2 separate regions of the Homo sapiens genome follow, and region 1 is linked to region 2. Evidence: promoter capture Hi-C in 16 types of primary human blood cells and fetal thymus (Javierre and others, 2016). All regions are on one chromosome and are shown on one strand. Each heading gives the region's core, a stretch centred on a gene start or on the middle of the fragment in contact. The rest is flanking DNA. Distances are from core to core; before and after follow the strand shown. Region 1 has its middle 130 kb from the start of LINC01654. Region 2 holds the start of IGSF21 (immunoglobin superfamily member 21).

Region 1 (5,433 bases), core at 403-2,902, 180 kb after region 2:
TTTTGCTTTTTGTTGTTGTTGTTCTTTTTTTTGTTTTGTTTTGTTTTTTTTTAATGCAATTGGGATGCAAGGGTCAGGACACTGAGAGACAGAAACAGAGACAGGAGAGATTTGTTCTCCTTTTATTCCCTCCACCAAACTCAAATATAACTATATTATCTGCACGGCTCCTCCCCTCCACCTGGTGTCCTAGGAATACTCTGAATAGTAATAATAAATGGTTTACATTGACCTTGAGCCTGCTATGTGCTGGGCAGGGTTTCAAGTGCTTTGTCTACATCAACTCGTTTAATCCTCGGAAAAGCCTAGTGGGTTCCAGGGCTCAGAGCTGGTCAGGGACTTGATCAAGTGCACGTTCCCAGTGTAGGGAGCTGGTCTGACCTCGTATATTGCCCTCCTTGGGGAAGAAATGACGCGGCCAGAATGACATTAAATTCCGGCTCCTTTAATTCACTGAAAACTCGCCATGACAAGCTTCACCACGTTCTCCAATGGATCCATATTTTTCGAACCCCAAAGTGATTTCTAAACAAGAAAAAACTTTTACCAGGGAAGTCGCAAACCTCTGGGCTCTCATCCCCTGCTTCAGAGACATCATCCATCTTCCTAGAAGTGACACTCGTTGCTTCTACGCAACTTGGTTAAAAGCAGAGTCAATAGTCGCAAGCTATGAATCTTTTCTGCTCCTCTAGAGAAGGAAAAAATCATTGCATGTTAGTGTTTGGGGGTCTCAGGCCCATAATGCAGTTTCTGAGGTCTCATAAAAGGGGCCCAGCCCTTCAATGCTCCCAGCTGAGGCCTCTCAGAGTGGAGTTTGGGAGTGGGTGGATGGGTGGGAAAGAAGCTGAAGAGTGGGAGGTGGGGGACACAGGGAAGCCAGGCCGACACCATCGTGGGAGGCCACAGCACCAGGCTGGGTGTCATGAGGCCACTGGCCCTTTGTGACCTTAGGCCTGTCTGAGCCTCCTCTGAGTCTCAGGTTTTCCCCTTTGAAAAACGGCAGTAACGTGTGATTGGTCCTGTCCGGCACAGCTCACAGGGCTGTTGAAAGGATCATGAGAGATGGAGTTATGGAAATAGCTGAAAGACCTTAACATCCCATTCACATACAGGGGATGGTAATGGTGATAACGGTGATGCTGGTGGCCTGGCACTCTGATCACTTAACAAGAGCCTGGAAGTGTTGTTTGTATCCATGTGCTGTGTGACCCCAGACAACTTGCCAAACCTCTCTGGGTTTTGATGTTCTCTCCTGTCAAATAGGGATAGTGAAGGACACAGTGAGATAAGAGGTGTGGAAGGACTCTAAACACTGTTTGACAGGATTCTGCTCTTGTCGATAATCATTTGACGAGAAGAGCTCTTTTGACAATTACAGAAGGAGAGCCACACCCAGGACAGTAAACCTCCTAGGTCAGCAGAAATTGGCAAATTCAAATCTTCCCAATATTCATCTTCATAACAACAACAACAACAACAAAAGCCTTGACTTCTAAAGAGAGCAAGTTGAAGTATTTACTGTTATTTTTGCACCTACTAAATGCCCAGCCAAAGAGACAAAGAAGAACCAACAGGCGTAAACTGTTTATGTGCCAAGCACAGTACCAAATGCTTTCTGATACAGTTTGGTTGTGTCCCTGCCCAAATCTCATCTTGAACTGTAGCTCCCATAATCCCCATGTGTCGTGGGAGGGACCTGGTGGGAGGTAATTGAATCGTGGGGGCGGGTTTTCCTTGTGCTGTTCTCATGATAGTGAATAAGTCTCTGAGATCTGACGGTTTTATTAAGGGCAGTTCCCCTGCACAAGCTCTCTTGCCTGCTGCCATGTGAGATGTGCCTTTGCTCCTCCTTCACCTTCCGCCATGATTGTGAGGCCTCCCCAGCCATGTGGAACTGTGAGTCCATTAAATCTCTTTTTCTTTATAAGTTATCCAGTCTCAGGTATGTCCTTATAGCAGCGTGAGAATGGACTAATAAACTTTCCATGCCTTACCTCTTTTAATCATCACAGAAAAATAATGGATTCAATATTATTTTTACTATTATCCCATTCTATAGAAATAACTTGATGTTTAGTAGAATACTGTCACTTGCCCAAAGTCACGCAGCTAAGAATTGTCCACACCTGTTTTTGAAACCCCTCTAACATACTCAAAGGTGAGGTTTTCAACCACCATGGGACACTGTCTCCAGACTTAACCCTCACACCAATCCTTTGGGATTGGAATTGCTACTATTCATTATCTAGATGAGAAAACCGAGGCTCAGAGTGATGAAGGGGCTCGGCCAAGGTCACATGTGGGTAAATGGTGGGTTGAAACCAGGTCTGTTTTTGGGAATTCACCTTTGGGTACCAAGACTCCACATAGAATGGCAGGCACAGGATTCACCAATGCTATGAGGTGCATGCAGGGAGGAGAGGGCAGAGTCTACCACTCAGAGTGCTGGAGGGAAGGCAGAGGCAGAGGGAAGCCACTGGCTCTCCTCTGTCACCCTGGGCAGGCTGGGTGGCAGGGAGAGGAATTACAGCCATGGAGGCGGATCTGGTCAAGCACTTCAGCCCCAGCTGAAAGTCAGACCAGGAGCAATGAGAATAGATCAGCCTTGCCACTTTACAGCAAGGAAGAGCCTCCCAGAGTCAGGAGACTGAAAGCCACAGAGTGTGGCCATCCCATGCCCCAGGAAGGACTTGCAAGGCCATCCTGCCTGCATGCAGCCATCCATTCCTTCAACAAGTATTTATGAAGCACCTGCTCTGTGCCAGGCACTATACCAGGTGCTGGGTAGGCAGCATGAGCAAGTCTGAGTCTGTGCCCGCAGGAAGCTTGGAGTCTGGTGTTTGGAGAGAGAGCACACCAGATACATCAACTTTGCAGTAAGGCAGACGGTGATACATGGAGGAGGCAGTGGGTCAGGACTGAGGAGCTTATGTGTTAGCTGTCTGTTTCCTCTTGCTACTAGAATGTGAACTTCACGAGGGCCAGGACCTCCCAGGTCTTGCTGGCTTCTCTATCTGCAGGGCCGGGTGGGTCATAGAGCATAGAGAAGCCTCTCCACTGGCAGCCATGTGGTTGTTGTCACCTTCCTGCTCTTCCTGGAGTCCTGGGCTGGGATCTGCCAGATCCCCTGGGCCTGGAATGAGGCCTCCCAGCCAGTCCCCGAGACAGGGAACAGAAATAGTAACAGCTCTCATTTAATAAGCACTTGCGTTGTGTCTGAATCTTGTTCTAAGTGCCTTAAATGCATCTCTCTCATGGAAGGCACCATCTTTATTATCTCCATTTTACAGTGGAGGAAACTGAGGCTCAGGGAGGCAAAATCACTTGCCTGAGAGCCCACCCACATAGCCACCACTCCCCACTGGCAAGCTTGGCCCAGCCTGCTGTCCAGATGCAGAAATGAAGGCAAGAATCAGAGCTGGAGCAGGAAGCAGCGGCCAGGAGAGGCCAGAAAGAGGGGACTTTTCTGAGCAACACATCCCAGGGGTGACCGGGAAGTGGAGAATCCTCCCCATCACCCAGGAACAAACCAACACACTAGGGGCTGGGCCAGGAGACAGGGAGGAAGGAAGGGCCATTCATCCCAATGGGGAGCAAGGAGAGAAAACCATTTCACCATGGGCTGTTCTACTCACCAGCCTTGTTCAGACCAAAAGGATGCTTTCCCCAAATTGGGGTGGATTTTGAACTAGGTTTAAAGGCAGCTCATCCCAACTGCTGAATGGGCAGCTCAGTCATGTTCACTGATCGTTAGCTCAGTGATAATTAGTAACTGGGGAAGGGGGCTAAGACTAAGAACAATTCTGTCCTTTCTGAGTGTGTCCAGACCCCATCTCTAGCAAATCCAAAATTTCTTAAAATTATGTTTTAAATGAAAATCCATCTCCAAGGAGTACATGTGAAGCAGAGAGATGGATCTTGGCACCAATGGCCTCGTGCTCACCTACTGCCATCCACACCACCCCTCCAGGGTGTCATGATGGGGGCTCAGCGCTGCCAGGGCTCCGGACATGGCCGGATCTGCTTTGGGAATTGCCTTCTGAGTCATTGCTGAGTCCCACAAGGAAGTCCATCTAATTATGTGCTAGTCTGACCTTATATTTGTCAACCCGGCTTCTAGTTCATAATATCCATCATTGGGATGACGGGATCAGGAGAAAACAGTATCCTTTTGCAGCAGGAAAGAGTCAGGTTAGACCCCAAAGTGCACTTCCCAGTCAAAATGGCTGGGCCAGCGCCAGCCCCTGAGTGAGACTGTGCCATCCATTTCTCAGAAGCTCCTTTCTTGTTCTTCAGCTCCTCTGGGGATTGGAACTGTATCTCACCACTCGGCTGTAGATTTATTAGTCCCCAGGAAGGATTCATCATATCCCAGAGCCTGAAGCCACTGTTTTGGTTTAATGTATGTTGGGTTTGCACCTCTGCTCTTGAGAGCAGGCAGTTCGAGGTTTGTCTTCTGCCTCCAGTCCCAGAGGCTGGCATGATGCCCACATACAGCAGGTGCTCAACAAGTGCTCTGGTTTGCTGGAGATTTTCAGGATAGTAGAGGCCTGTTAGTCCATTGAGGGTGGCAGCGATGGAGGGAAGAGCCACACAACAGGACTTTTGCACCTTTATCCCTCTTCATCCTCCCGGCAGCCCTGCGTGGTAGGCATAAGCAGCTCTGTTTCACAAAAGACGAAACTGGGGCACCAAAGAACTCACCTGAACCTTTACAATCTTAGATCTCACAACAGTGGTCCAAGACGGGGGACTCTCCTTTCTGGAATCACTTGTGAGGGAAACTCCAGATTCAACCTCTAAGAACAGGCTCCATTGCTTGGCTTCAGTCCTGTCTGGTGGCAGGGGCTGGACCAGATGAAAAATAAGAATACAAATAGCTGACATTTCTCAAGCAGAGATCATGTGCTGAGCACTGTTCTGAACATTCTGACACTAACGCTTTTGACCCCTCAAGGACGGCAGGCATCACCTCCATTCTACAGTCAAGGAAAGAGAAGCGTGGAGTTAAAGGCTTGAGTTCATACGGCAAGTGAACAGTGGAGCAGGGGAGGGTTGGAGCGCAGCAGTCTTAGGCGAGAACACATGCTCCTTTCTGCCTGCCCTCCAGCTCTCTGGAAAACGTGCTTTACGTGAAGGCCCAGAGAAGCCAAGCAGGCAATCTGATGTCACACAGCAAGGCTGTGGTCCTCCTGGTTTAGAGCATAGGTCTCTGGCTTTACTTGCTGTGGGAGCAAGAGGAAAACAGGTTGGATGTGTCCATGCCAGGCACTGTGCTTGGCACTTTCTTTACACATCGCATTTGATCCTGACAACAGTCCTATAAGGTAGACATGCACCTGTGGTCCCAGCTATTTGGGAAACTGAGGTGGGAGGATTCCTTGAGCCTGGGAGGTTGAGGCTGCAGTGAGCCAAGACTGCACCACTGCACTC
Region 2 (5,149 bases), core at 978-3,477:
CCCTGCTCCCGGGTTCCAGGGAGAGCTCGCAGGGTGGGGTCCTGACGGAGCCAGGGTTTCCCAACAAGCCCTTCTCATCAGTCCTCTCCTTCACCCTGCCGCGTCTCTCTGTTCTGCGCATTCCCAGGGAAAGGGGTGCTTACCTTAGGTCCCCAGCCTCCAACCCCCGCCCCCTGCAATGTCCAGGTGAGGGCTCCAGTGCCTTTCAACAAACCCCAGTGCCCTCTCGGCGGCGCTGGAACGAGGACCTCCCCCATGTAACCTTTCCCTCTAGAGCCCTCCTCCCAAAGTTGAGGGGGGACATTTTGATCCACTTAGGAAAGTCTCTTGTTCCAAGGGTAGGGGAACAAAGTACAGGGTTTGCATTCCTTCTGGGTTACACCAACCCCTCCCCCCTCGCTGTCAGGACCACCTTCCGGGCTCAAATTCTGCAGCTTCTCCCATCAGCAGACCCAGCACTCCCCAAGGACTTCGGGGTAGAAGGAGTTGGGGTTATTTTTAAGGGGGCACCCCTTCCTGGCAGGCACTCTCAGAGCCTAGGTAGGCACCTCCTGCTGGGACAAGGCTATGGCATAGGACAGAGGTGATGCCCACCTCTATCATCCAGTGGGGCTCGGGGTCGAGACCTTATTGATCATAAAGACGACTTTTTGGCACCTCGCGTCCCGCTCCCCTCCGAGGCGGAGCCAGGCTCTGACTCCAGCCAGGCTGAGGTTGGCACCAGGCTCCGAGGAGGATCCCGGACGCGGAGCCTGTAGTCTCGGTGCCTGCGGCTCTTCGCTGGTCCCGCCTCCCTCCCTCCTGGCTTTTAGCCTCACGTTGGCTCTCTGCTCACTGCGCGAAAGGGTTCAGCTCCATTTAAGACCCACTACGCGGCGGCACTGGGTGGGAGGCCGGCCGCGGACCCTGGGGCTGCGGAGCCACCTCTCACTGGCTCCGGAGAACCCGCTCGGCTTCAACCTCCTTCTAGCTGTCTTAGCCTAACCCGGGAGCAAGTCCACACGGCGGGACACACACACACACACACACACACACACACTGAGCTGCTCACAACTCCCCAGCCCCGGAAGCGTCCATACCTCCCTGCACACGATAACCACACGCTCCATGGCACGCATACACACACTCCCAGCCCCATGAAGCCCACGACTCCCAGGCACCTGCACCCCCACCCATCCCACATAAGCAGACTCTTGTCCAGTGTCACAGTCCCATCTCCTGTGCACACAGAAATAGTAATCCGCTGTCGTACACCCCTAGAGACCTGCACACTCGGGACACACGTGAAACGCCAAACCTCACATACCCACCCCCTAACACCTCACACCCACAGTGACACAAGCTCACACACTTCACACCCTCACAGGGAAGGTGGCACATGTTCACACCCTCCCCCCAACATTCGCTCACACTCTCACACACACACCTTCTCCATGTAACTGACACAGACACTCTAACACCCATCCAGACCCTCGCTCACTCACACGCAGACCCCACACCATCACACACACACGCACACACACACTTGCATCTCTAAATACACTCCCGCACCTTCTGCCCACACAGCTCCTTCCCGGACACCCTCACCCAGACACACAACAAAGACACACAATTTACACACACACACACACCCTGGCACAAATCCATGAGCGCTCTCCAAGAGGCGTCCTCCCTCCCTCATCGAGCCAACCAGCTCCACAGACCCCGGGCAGGACCGGTGCTCGTAGCCCGAGCCTCTCGGAGCGACCCCGGCCAGCGCCCTCCCCCGGCACCCCGTCCCCGCGCACGTTCACCGCTCGGCTCCCGCCAGGCGCCCGCGCACTCACCGCGCGCCAGGTCCAGGATCGCGGCGAGCAGCAGGCAGACGCAGCGGCGGAGGCTCGGGGCGGTTCGCATGGTGCCCGGGAGCTGGCGGCGGTGGCGGGGCGGCGGGGGTGGAGGCGGTGGCGGCGGGTCCCCTCGCCATGGGCTCAGACGCGCTCCTGCCTCCGGCCACTGGCCGAGGCGGTGGCGGGCAGCGCGGAGAGCCGCGGGGGCGCCCCCATGCCGCCGCGGCCAGGCAGCCCGGGCGCCCGGCTCGACTCGGCTCCGGCTCTGCGAGGCGCAGCGACCCTCGCGCTCTGGGCGTCCTCGGGGCTCGCCGCGGTTCTCGGCTCCCTAGCTGCGCGCGGTGCCCACCGCGGCCCAGAGTCCGATCGGCTGCAGCGCCGGAGTTTGGAGCCGAATCGCGCTCTCTGCCTCGCGCTCGCCTCTCCCGGCGGCGCGAGCACCCCCCTCCTCTCGCCCTCCCTCCGTCCCTCCCCCTCTCCCCGCCCCCCCGCCCTCCTTGCCCTCCCCTCGCCGCGCTCTCCGCGTATTATACAGACTTTTCTTTAATCCTTTCTGGGCTGTTCGGCTCTCGTCCGCTAAGCCGATTTATTGCAGGGAGAAGGAGAGCTCACCCCCTCCTAACCTCCCCTCTCCCCTCACTCAGGTCCCCCCTCACTCAAAACTGGCTTGCTGCCTCCAGCTTCTTAACCCTTACCCAGGTGACCCAACACCCCGCCCTGGAAGCTATGCTCCATCGGATCCGCCTTTACCTAGCCCCTCCTATCCCCGGGATTACCATCGCCCTCCCCGCTACTCAGCCTGATGAAAGGAGGCAGCCTCCCTCCCGAGAGGGAAAGATGCCATCCTGGGAGCAGGGCAGGCAGGGTGTGGCTCTGGAGTTCTGACCTTGCCAACGATGAATGCCCTCATTGGGCAAGATTAAGGGGTTTCCATGTTCTGAAACTTCCCCAATTACGGCTGCTCCTTCCCCCAGGGACCCACGGAAATGGGGTGTGTTCTGTCTTTTTCCCATGTGCTAGGATCCAGCCAGGAAGGGTGAGGAACTGATTGTTTCCTCCTGGCAGAGACCAAGTTTCCACCTTTTTGCCAGACCTGACAGCTTTTCTTCCCAGGTCCGAGAAGAACAGGTTTGGGACTTGTATGTTACCATTACTCTCCCACCAACACACACGCGAGCACACACACACACACACACACACACACACACACACCATTGAGCCTCAGCCCTGGCGGTGGACTTTGAGGCCTCCTGCGAGGATGAAGGGGAGGGGTACTCTAGCCCTTGGAGTGGACTGGGGATGTGGTTAGATGAGGAAGTTCAGGAGATAGAATTTCACCATTGGTAGGGACCCAGAAGATTGGCAAAGCCCAGAAAAACCAGCACGACCAGGGGCAAAACCTGCTCAGAACTCAGGTGGGTCCCTTTACCCAGGCCTTCTATGGAGAATCTCCAGCTTCCCTAGCTCTGGCAGGTTGCTGAGTCAGGCTGTTGCATCGTTTACCTACATGGGCAATGGGTCTATAGCCAGTTCCATCTCCAGCAGCCCTCTGAGAGGAGTGTAGGGAGTGGGGTGGGCAATGGGTGGTTGCTGGGCTGCCTCTGGGTGAGCTTTGTGCAGAGATGTCCATGAAAGTGAACTGCTCCCTCCTCCTGCCCTCTGGAACCTCACCCCATCGCCTCCCAAGGCAGCTCTGCGGCTCAGCTTGCTCACCCACCCCAGAAGGAGCGATTTGCATTTATGAAGATCTGAAAGCATACGTTCACCTGACAGGCTTTAGAATGATCCTCTCAGTAAAATAATAATAATGATCATAATAAACCCTTATAAATAGGTGTTTGATTACAGTTTGTCCCTAAGTGGGATTTTTTTTTTTTTTTTTTTTTTTTTTTTTTGTGAATCAGACTAATTGGTTCCAGGTTGATTGGACTGCATATGGCTTGAACACTTGATGAACACTGGAGTCTTAGGTCCTTTCTTCTCCCTTTGGCTGCTGTTCTTTGCTCCCTCTCACTCGCATCCACCCAGGTCTCCCCTTCTCCAGGCTGCTGAGGGTCAGCTTGAGGTCACCTCTCCCCCTCACCTTCTTCTCAGGCTGCAGGGCACAGTCCCTTACTGCCTCCTCCCTGGCCCTCCCTCCCCACTCTGACCCAAGAAAAAGTCAACAAACCCAAAAGTCCATCCCAGGTTCTAAATCCTCTGTGGAAGGGGCTCCCTGGCTGGGGAACAGCATCAGGTTCATGCGGTTCCTTGTGCTGGTCTGAGTTGTGCAGGGAAATGCCAAGCATCGCTGTGTGGGCATTCCTACTCTCTGGCCCCAGCTGCAAATCGGCGTGCAGCTAGGCAGGTGGACAGCATCAGTTCCTCAGGTGAACCCTGAATTGGTGGGGCTTCCTGGCTGCGCTCCCTGCAGCCCAGCCCTTGGAGATGAGGGCCAGGGAGCAGGTGGGATTCCAGGGCCCCTTAGTGATGTTTCTTCCCAGCCATGGTTCACACCAGCTAGAAAAGAGAGCCAGCAGAAGGAGCTAGAGAATGGCATCTGAGGATATGCTAGTGAGGAGGAAAGCAGGCCTAACAGCCAAGGGAGGGTTGCTTCCTAGGACCAAGGATTGGGGCTGGTGTGTTGGAGATCTCCTTCAGCCCCAAGACTTCTGAATCACCTCAATTCTCTTTAACATCACCCTGTATTATAATTATTATTATGCCTAGCCAGTGCCTGACACATAGTGGATCCTCAATAAATACCAGTTGGATGAATGCGTGAATGAATGAATGAATGAATGAATGAATGAGGGTAGGTCATTCAGTCTTATCCACTCTGTTCCTCAGCTCCTTGCACAAGTCTGGCACTTGGTAGGCGTCCTGTGGCAGTGAACCTCCTTGGAGCGCCAGGATCACATATTCTGACTGGGCCCATCAGAGAGGAGGTGTCTGCTCAGGTGCGCAGTTTGGTTTTGCCCAAAGGGGCCTGGCTGTGATGTGCATGTCTATGGCCATATGGTAACCATAGTGGTTAATACGGCTGCCTTCACAGGCCCCTCCAGGGAAGCCCACTCCTCCAGCTCCTGTTTCATAAGATATAGCTTTAAAGCCTTTCCTTTGTCCCAGAGAAAGACATCTCTGGAGCACTGAGAAGCACAGTTAGCAGAGGGCACAGGGTGGGGTGCCTTAGCCAAAGGAAAAGGTCACGCGGGACAGCCCTGGGGCTTTTAATTTGCTTAACATCCCTTGGCTCCTGTCTCCTAATGGATCGGCAGGGCCTCCACTTTGCAGTCCTGGCACTCAGACCCATGAGTCACGGCAGGACAGGCCTCTTCCTC

What was found. Contacts are between HindIII fragments. The CHiCAGO score rates a contact against its expected background, and 5 or more counts as called.
Region 1: a fragment that was not itself captured here is called in contact with the fragment with the promoter of IGSF21 in region 2 in 1 of 17 cell types (naive CD4 T cells); the score reaches 5.3 in naive CD4 T cells.

The regions. Positions count from the first base shown.
Region 1 is chr1:17,928,503-17,933,935 of GRCh38, reverse strand. No RefSeq gene overlaps it. Among named protein-coding and RNA genes, the nearest start is that of LINC01654, 130 kb to the left of the region's middle. The HindIII fragment of the contact is 2,351 bases long and covers 477-2,827 here.
Region 2 is chr1:18,104,876-18,110,024 of GRCh38, reverse strand. It overlaps IGSF21 (immunoglobin superfamily member 21), which reads right to left and starts at 2,227. Exons shown (of 10, transcript NM_032880.5): 1 at 1,827-2,227. The coding sequence starts at 1,896. The HindIII fragment of the contact is 15,130 bases long and covers 1-5,149 here.